Linked DNA regions of Homo sapiens: regions 2 and 3 are each linked to region 1. The links are contacts of gene promoters, found by promoter capture Hi-C in blood cells and fetal thymus (Javierre and others, 2016). All regions are on one chromosome and are shown on one strand. The core of a region is centred on a gene start or on the middle of the fragment in contact, and the rest is flanking DNA. Distances in the headings are between cores, read along the strand shown. Region 1 holds the start of KXD1 (KxDL motif containing 1). Region 2 overlaps CERS1 (ceramide synthase 1). Region 3 holds the start of COPE (coat protein complex I subunit epsilon).

What was found. Contacts are between HindIII fragments. The CHiCAGO score rates a contact against its expected background, and 5 or more counts as called.
Region 2: a fragment that was not itself captured here is called in contact with the fragment with the promoter of KXD1 in region 1 in 1 of 17 cell types (M0 macrophages); the score reaches 5.4 in M0 macrophages.
Region 3: a contact is called between the fragment with the promoter of COPE here and the fragment with the promoter of KXD1 in region 1, in 1 of 17 cell types (neutrophils). The highest score is 6.7, in neutrophils.

The regions. Positions count from the first base shown.
Region 1 is chr19:18,556,215-18,559,119 of GRCh38, reverse strand. It overlaps KXD1 (KxDL motif containing 1), which reads right to left and starts at 1,250. Exons shown (of 5, transcript NM_024069.4): 1 at 1,206-1,250. RefSeq lists a silencer at 992-1,151 and enhancers at 642-1,431, 1,432-2,223. The HindIII fragment of the contact is 7,069 bases long and covers 1-2,905 here.
Region 2 is chr19:18,868,258-18,870,957 of GRCh38, reverse strand. It overlaps CERS1 (ceramide synthase 1), which reads left to right. Exons shown (of 8, transcript NM_021267.5): 7 at 339-975; 8 at 1,568-2,413. The coding sequence ends at 381. It overlaps GDF1 (growth differentiation factor 1), which reads left to right. Exons shown (of 8, transcript NM_001492.6): 7 at 339-975; 8 at 1,568-2,413. The coding sequence starts at 651. The coding sequence ends at 2,361. Among named protein-coding and RNA genes, the nearest start is that of CERS1, 27 kb to the left of the region's middle. The HindIII fragment of the contact is 5,071 bases long and covers 1-2,700 here.
Region 3 is chr19:18,917,963-18,920,662 of GRCh38, reverse strand. COPE (coat protein complex I subunit epsilon) reads left to right here and starts at 1,276. Exons shown (of 10, transcript NM_007263.4): 1 at 1,276-1,440. The coding sequence starts at 1,315. DDX49 (DEAD-box helicase 49) reads right to left here and starts at 948. Exons shown (of 13, transcript NM_019070.5): 1 at 807-948; 2 at 1-83. The coding sequence starts at 921. RefSeq lists enhancers at 674-1,273, 2,176-2,700 and a silencer at 1,354-1,543. The HindIII fragment of the contact is 20,861 bases long and covers 1-2,700 here.

The sequences.
Region 1 (2,905 bases), core at 1-2,500:
GCTACTCAGGAGGCTGAGGCAGGAGAATCGCTTGAACCCGGGAGGCAGAGGTTGCAATGAGCCAAAATCAAGCCACTGCATTCTAGTGTGGGCTACAGAGGGAGACTTCATCTCAACTGAAAAAAAAAAAAAAAAAAAAAAAAAGACACCTGGAGAGGGAGGCCCATAGCTAGTACCAGTGAGACACAGTACTGGGACCTTCTGGGATACACTCCTCCTTCAAAACAGGACTCTTTTCTGTCTCTGGCTCCCAGATGTGAGGGCTGAGGGGTTCCTGGCACCTCCCTCCCGTCCCCCCGCAACTTCCTCTCCCAAGAAGCCTTCCCTGATTACTGCTAGTCTGGCCCACATACACAGTGAAATTGACCCAGCAAGAGCTCTGATCCCAACTCCAAATGTAGATTTATTGAAGAAACGCAGAGAGGTAGGCTGTTTGACCATGGGAGAGCCACTTCACCCTTCTGAATCAGTTTTTTCAACCATAAAATGAAAATAAGGTAGAATGAAGATCTCACAGTGCTGTCTGTGGCAACTGAAACCAAAGGTGATAACGACTGGAGCTCAGGACAGGCTGTTTCTCCAAGAGGAGTGTGAAGAAGTCCCGGGAATCAACATTTTGAGAGCATCCCAGGGGCCTCTAAGAATATATTACGGGCAAACACTTGTAGAGCACTTCATTTCATCCTCAATCACCGTTACGAGGCAGACACAATCATCTCCGAGTGAAACTGAGGCTCACAGGGGCGGGCTCCGTTGCCGAAACTCACAGGGAGAGGCAGAGAAGCACCACGGTTCTATATCCAGGTTATTTAACAGAATTTAACTCAGCCATCCAAGCTCTGAAAAACCCCAAGTGGGGAGGGGCTCAAATATCCCCTCACGCCCCGTCCCCTACAATACAGGGAAACTGAGGCACAAACCGGGCAACGCCCAGCTCCAGGTTACACGACACACCCAGAACACAGGAGGCCCCAATTCCTATGCCCCTGATCCGGATCCAGATCCAGCCCGTAGCGCCGCCTGCGTATCCATTGAGCAGACGGGGAAACTGAGGCCTGTGCGCAGCAGGAATGACCAGATGTGGCCAGTGGCGCACCCCACCCCACCGCAGCCCGGGGGCCGCGCCCGACCCGGACCGGTTCCCCGCGGCCCTGGAGTCCCCAGCCCCACCCCAAACTCGGCCCCGGCGTCGGTAGCGGCGGCACCTGCACATCTGGCGGCCTTGCTCGCGCTTCCGGGATGGCGCCCGCGCCGGCGAAACGTCACCACGCACCGATCCTGCGAGCGCGCGTGGCGGGGACGTACCCTGGAGCCGCTTGCGTGCGTTAAGTCACGACAGGAAAGGGCGGGGCTTAGACGGAGCTTCAGCTCGTGGGTGCATCACAATGAATAGCCAATCAAACAATTCATCTCGCGCCTGCGTATTTCCAGAAGCCCAGGCTTGAAAGCGGCCCGGAAGAAGGAAGGCTGAGAGAAGTGTCCCATTTTGTAGATAGTGTGACTGAGGTCCCAGAGTGGTAACCCTCCCCAAGGTCGTAAATGCTACAGTGGTCAGAGGCCAAACCACACTCAGGTGTCCTGCTTTCCAAGCAGGGAATTAGACTCATCTGTGTTCAGACATCCCTGCTCCACTTTTGCTGATTTTTTTGGTCCAAGTTTCCTTTTTTTTTTTTTTTTTTTTTTTTTGAGACAGAGTTTCGCTCTTGTTGCCCAGGCTGGAGTACAATGGCGTGATCTCGGCTCACCGCAACCTCCGCTTCCCAGGTTCAAGCGATTCATCTGCCTCAGCCTTCCGGAGTAGCTGGAATTACAGGCATGTGCCACCATGCCCGGCAAGTTTTGTGTTTTTAGTAGAGACAGGGTTTCTCCATGTTGGTCAGGCGGGTCCCGATCTCCCGACCTCAGGTGATCTGCCCGCCTCGGCCTCCCAAAGTGCTGGGATTACAGGCATGAGCCACCGCGCCCAGCCCTGGTTTCCATTTACACTTCCACGTTGTTTTGGAGTAATGCGCTGGGGAATTTTTTCAAAAGGGTTTACAGGCTGGGCGCGGTGGCTCACATCCTGTCATTGTAATCCGAGCACTTTGGGAGGCCGAGGCGGGCGGATCACGAGATCAGGAGTTCGAGACCAGCCTGACCAACATGGTGAAACCTTGTCTCTACTAAAAATAAAAAAAATTAGTCGGGAGTGGTGGCGGGAGCCTGTAATCCCAGCTACTCAGGAGGCTGAGGCAGGAGAATCGCTTGAACCCAGGAGGCAGAGGCTGCAGTAAGCCAAGATCGCACCACTGCACTCCAGCTTGGGCGATAGAGCAAGACCACGTCTCAAAAAAAAAAAAGAAGGTCAAGCTAAAAAATGAAGAAAATGTATTTTAAGTTCATGTTAGTTTGTGTATACGAGTACCAAGTTTTTGTAATAAAATGCCTCACAGCTACAATTGGAAAAAAAAAAAAAAACGGGCCTGTGGCCCGAGCCTGTGGTCCCAGTTTCTCAAGAGGCTGAGGTAGGAGTATCGTTTGAGGCCAGGAGGCAGAAGTTGCAGTGAACGAAGACCCCACTCCAGCCTGGGCAACAGAGTGAGACCCAGTCTCAAAAAACAAACAGGCCCGGCGCAGTGGCTCACGCCTGTAACCCCAGCACTTTGGGATGCCAGGCGTGTGGATCACCTGAGGTCGGGAGTTTGAGACCAGACTGGCCAACATGGTGAAACCCCGTCTCTACTAAAAATCCAAAAAAAAAAAAAAAAAATTAGCCTGGCGTGGTGGCAGGTGCTATAATCATAGCTACTCAGGAGGATGAGGCATGAGAATCTCTTGAACCTGGGAGGCGGAGATTGCAGTGAGCCGAGATTGTGCCACTGCACTCCAGCCTGGGTGACAGAATGAGACTTTGTCTCAAAAAGCA
Region 2 (2,700 bases), core at 11-2,510, 310 kb before region 1:
GAGTTGTCAGGCCCAGGCCGGTACGTGGGTTTTGCCCTCCAGCGGCCTGGAGAGGCAGGGAGGAGGGGAAGAGGAAGGTTTAATTGGAGAGGGGGAAGCAAGGAGGAAGTGCCAGGGTGCCAGGGGGGACATACGTGCCTACGGGGCAGGTTGAAGGAGGGGCAGGGTGAAGGCAAGGAGGGGCAGGGTGAAGGCGAGGAGGAAGCCACAAGGCGAGGCCCGGGCCTGGCCGGGTAAAAGGAGCCAGGGGGTGTGAAACGGCCAGAGAAGAAGCGGGAAAGAGGGCCAGGCGGCCGCGTGGGGCTCCCAGGCTAACCTGCGCCGGTTCTGACCCCCAGGAAGCCACTGAGGAACGGCCTGGTGAAGGACAAGCGCTTCTGAACCCCTCGGCCCCGCCCCCGTGGACCCGGCCCCACCCCGAATACCCCGGCCACGCTCCCCGTCCTTGGCCGCCCCTCCACCCCCTCCAACTCTGCTCCTCTAGGGCCGCCGCCACCTCCCCTGGGACCCCGCCCCCTCATCCTGCCTCCAGTTCCCGGCCACGCCCCCCAGGACCCCTGCCCCTCCGGGGACACCGGCCCCGCCCTCAGCCCACTGGTCCCGGGCCGCCGCGGACCCTGCGCACTCTCTGGTCATCGCCTGGGAGGAAGATGCCACCGCCGCAGCAAGGTCCCTGCGGCCACCACCTCCTCCTCCTCCTGGCCCTGCTGCTGCCCTCGCTGCCCCTGACCCGCGCCCCCGTGCCCCCAGGCCCAGCCGCCGCCCTGCTCCAGGCTCTAGGACTGCGCGATGAGCCCCAGGGTGCCCCCAGGCTCCGGCCGGTTCCCCCGGTCATGTGGCGCCTGTTTCGACGCCGGGACCCCCAGGAGACCAGGTCTGGCTCGCGGCGGACGTCCCCAGGGGTCACCCTGCAACCGTGCCACGTGGAGGAGCTGGGGGTCGCCGGAAACATCGTGCGCCACATCCCGGACCGCGGTGAGTGGGGCTTTCGCTGGGGACACTGGTCCTGGAGGCCAGACCTCGCAGGGCGAGCCTCGAGAGTGGCCCGGGGATGCCCGAGCAGCTCCGAGGGTCCCCACCCGCCCTGTCCAGGCTACTAGCAACTTCGGCCACCGCACCTCACCCTTTCCTCGTCATCTGCTGCACGCCGGGGACACATGTCAGGGGGTTCCCAAGACCAGTCCTTCTGCTTGATGCTGAAGCCCTGTCCCCACCCCATGCCCACCCCCACCTCTTGACACTAATGCCTTCCTGCAGATGCCATCCCCACACCCTAGCATGGCTTCCCCAGGGGCCCAGGTTCTGGCTCATGTCTCCCACTTCGGCCACCCCTCCTCCTATGCCCCCCGCCGAGGGCAGCCCACCCCCCCCGCCGCACCCCGCAGGGCGCCTTCCTTGGAACTCATGCCCTGCCCCCACTCCATCAGCCCACCCCGCCGCTTCACACCCTTCCCACAGACGGTGCGCCCCGAGCCCCAGCGTTCACCTTCCTCCCTGTCCCTAACCGAGACCCCATGGGCAGGCCGGGGACGCAGCGCGAGCCGAGTTCCTGTTCCTACCTCCCCAGGTGCGCCCACCCGGGCCTCGGAGCCTGCCTCGGCCGCGGGGCATTGCCCTGAGTGGACAGTCGTCTTCGACCTGTCGGCTGTGGAACCCGCTGAGCGCCCGAGCCGGGCCCGCCTGGAGCTGCGTTTCGCGGCGGCGGCGGCGGCAGCCCCGGAGGGCGGCTGGGAGCTGAGCGTGGCGCAAGCGGGCCAGGGCGCGGGCGCGGACCCCGGGCCGGTGCTGCTCCGCCAGTTGGTGCCCGCCCTGGGGCCGCCAGTGCGCGCGGAGCTGCTGGGCGCCGCTTGGGCTCGCAACGCCTCATGGCCGCGCAGCCTCCGCCTGGCGCTGGCGCTACGCCCCCGGGCCCCTGCCGCCTGCGCGCGCCTGGCCGAGGCCTCGCTGCTGCTGGTGACCCTCGACCCGCGCCTGTGCCACCCCCTGGCCCGGCCGCGGCGCGACGCCGAACCCGTGTTGGGCGGCGGCCCCGGGGGCGCTTGTCGCGCGCGGCGGCTGTACGTGAGCTTCCGCGAGGTGGGCTGGCACCGCTGGGTCATCGCGCCGCGCGGCTTCCTGGCCAACTACTGCCAGGGTCAGTGCGCGCTGCCCGTCGCGCTGTCGGGGTCCGGGGGGCCGCCGGCGCTCAACCACGCTGTGCTGCGCGCGCTCATGCACGCGGCCGCCCCGGGAGCCGCCGACCTGCCCTGCTGCGTGCCCGCGCGCCTGTCGCCCATCTCCGTGCTCTTCTTTGACAACAGCGACAACGTGGTGCTGCGGCAGTATGAGGACATGGTGGTGGACGAGTGCGGCTGCCGCTAACCCGGGGCGGGCAGGGACGCGGGCCCAACAATAAATGCCGCGTGGTCTGCTCCGCTGGTCTCCTTGGACTCCTTGCCTGGGTGGTGGGGAGGGCGCCCCTCAGTCTTGGTGATCGGATAGGCCTTTCCACCTCCAGGCCACCTGCCAGAGGCCTAACGCGCCACTCCGGGGAGCCGCCCGGACAGGCCCAGGTGCTGCCTACGGGAAGGGCCCAGGGGCAGGGGTCGCCCTTCAGTCCTGCAAGGCAGACCTGTCCCTTCTGGGCTTTGCCTGTCTCCCTCTGGCCTCCTTCACACCCCAACCCGTCACTCAGCCAAGGCAAAACCCCAGCACCCTCCA
Region 3 (2,700 bases), core at 27-2,526, 360 kb before region 1:
CTCAGACAGCTTCTGCAAGATGGGAAGGACAAACGCTGCTGTCTTCCCACTGCCTGTCTTAGCACAGCCCAAGCAGTCTCGACCTGGGTTGGGGACAAAGCAGCATCAACACCCTCCATGTGTGGACAGCTGGGTTTCAGAGACCTTGCCCAGGACACACTGCCAGTGAGTGGCAGGCTGGACTGGAACCCATATCCATTTGACCCGAGATGCCCACAGCTTCCTACCACCTCGTTCTAACTCCGTCCAGGAGCACGTGAATTTGGGGAATCCAGAATTCCCTTCCCTCATATGCATCTTGTGCTCCCTGTTGACCCCTTCATTTGTTTATTTAATCCCTGACTTATCACATCTTAGGCTTCCTGTGGGCCTCTCTTTAATGGCGAAACTGGGTTGGGCTAGAGGAGCAGAGAGAAGACCTTCTCCTAGAGGAGCAATCACAGGACCAAGGAGTCCTGGATCTACCAGCAATTTTGACAGCCTCAACTTCTATTTGTAAAATAAAGATAGCAGTACCAGGTCTGCAGGATTTTGCGATACTATCGGACTAGTCATCCATCAAACCCTCCCTGTGCTGAGACTATGAAAATTTCAGAGATTACATCACTTGCGTACGAACACAAAGCGAGTCAGTCATGCAACCTAAATGCCAACACTGTCCAGTCGTCCTCCGGAACCCCGGATCTCCTGTAACGCCCGAGGTTGCCCCTCGCCTCGTGGGACCGGAATAAGCAAAGGTTGCGAGAAGGGAAAGGAGTCGAGAGGAGCGGAGAGGCCTCTTGGGGAAGGCCCTGGGCCATACTCACCCTCCAGGATGGCGGGGATGCAGCCGAGCTGCACGGGCGTGGGCTGCTTCAAACCCAGCTGCCGACATTGTTCCACGAGCCACGATGACAGCCCGAGCTCCGCGAAGCCTGCCATCCTTGTGGCCGCTTGTAGGGGCCCCTTGTAGGGGCCCGTGTGATCCGCGCTTCCGGCGCGCGCCGACGACGTCACGAGAAAAATCTTCCTGTTTATTGGATCTGCCTCCTGCGTGGTCCCACCCTCTCCAGCTCCCTCAGCCTATTCCCAGCCTCGACCGCATCCTTATCATGTTTCCCCGGATCCCATTGGCTTGCAGAAACACACTACAATTCCCGAGATGCTCTCCGTGACGCACTTACGCCTTCCGCCCCCTTGCATATTATTGTGGAGCTTCCCATTGGCTTACTTCGCCGCCGCTCGGAAAAAGTAAACTACATTTCCTAGCGTGCCCGTGTCTTGCTTCCGGCTGACGTGTCTTTCAGGAAGAGGAGCTGGTGAGAAGACAGCGAAATGGCGCCTCCGGCCCCCGGCCCGGCCTCCGGCGGCTCCGGGGAGGTAGACGAGCTGTTCGACGTAAAGAACGCCTTCTACATCGGCAGCTACCAGCAGTGCATAAACGAGGCGCAGCGGGTGAAGGTGCGGCCGCGCAGGGGCGCGGGGACGCTGGGGGCGGAGGCGGAGGACGCTTTCTGGTGGCCGCGAGCCGCGTTCTGCGTCTAAAAACTTTCTCTTTTCTTCTCGCGTTTTTTGGGCCACCTCTTCCACAGTTCAGTGAGGAGTAGTCACTGTCCCGTGACAGAACCCAGAGCAGTAACAGTTTACGGTACTGCTCACTCGTACAGCGTTCTCTCTGCGCCCTTGAAAGTGTTTTGAGTAAGGGAGGTGTTTATGCCACTGTAGTGACAATAAGCCTATTTTGTTCAGCCATACCTTCAGTTCCCGTGAGATGGAGACTGTTGCTTATCCTCATTTTACGGATGAGAACCCTAAAGTTCAGAGAAGGACGTTTCCCTGCCCAACCAGCCTGGTTATTTCTCCCAGAGCTTACCCATTCATTCATTCATTCTTCATTGAGCACTTTTTTGGACGGGCACTGTATTCCGCTGGACTCAGAATGATAAACACAGTTTCCCAGCGCAGTGGCTCAAACGCCTGTAATTCTGGCGCTTTGGGAGGCCGAGGCGGGCAGATCGCATGCGCCCAGGAGTTCGAGACCAGCTTGGGCAACGTGGAGAAACCATGAGTCTACCAAAAATTAGCCGGGCGTGGTGGCGGGCACTTGTAATCTCAGCTACCGGGAGGCTGAGACAGGAGAATCGCTTCAACCCGGAGGCCGAGGTTGCAGTGAACCGAGATCGCGCCACTGCACTCCAGCCTGGGTGACAAAGTTGTAAGAATTAAAGAGGAAAGAAACACGAAAGGTGGCTTGCCAGTCAAGACAGGTTTATTTTAGAGAAAACAAACCTGAGAGGCGCCTTCTGGCGGAGTTGGGTCAGAGTAACACTCTTTTACAGACTAAGAGTTTTTAAGGATTCAGGGTCGGAGAGTTTATCAGAGGCTTGAACTGCTTCTGTGTCTCTTCGTTGTGCTTATCTGGGAGGGAGAGTTGTGTGTCTGTTCCCATACATCTTTCTTTTTTCTTTTCTTTTCTTTTCTTTTTTTTTTTTTTTTGAGATGGAGACTCGCGCTGTTGCCAGGCTGGAGTGCAGTGGCGTGATCTCGGCTCACTGCAACCTCCGCCCCCAGGTTCAAGCAATTCTCCTTTCTCAGCCTCTCGAGTAGCTGGGATTACAGGCGCGCGCCACCATGGCCCGGCTAATTTTTGTATTTTTAGTAGAGACGGGGTTTCACCATGTTGGCCAGGATGGTCTCCATCTCTTGACCTTGTGATCTGCC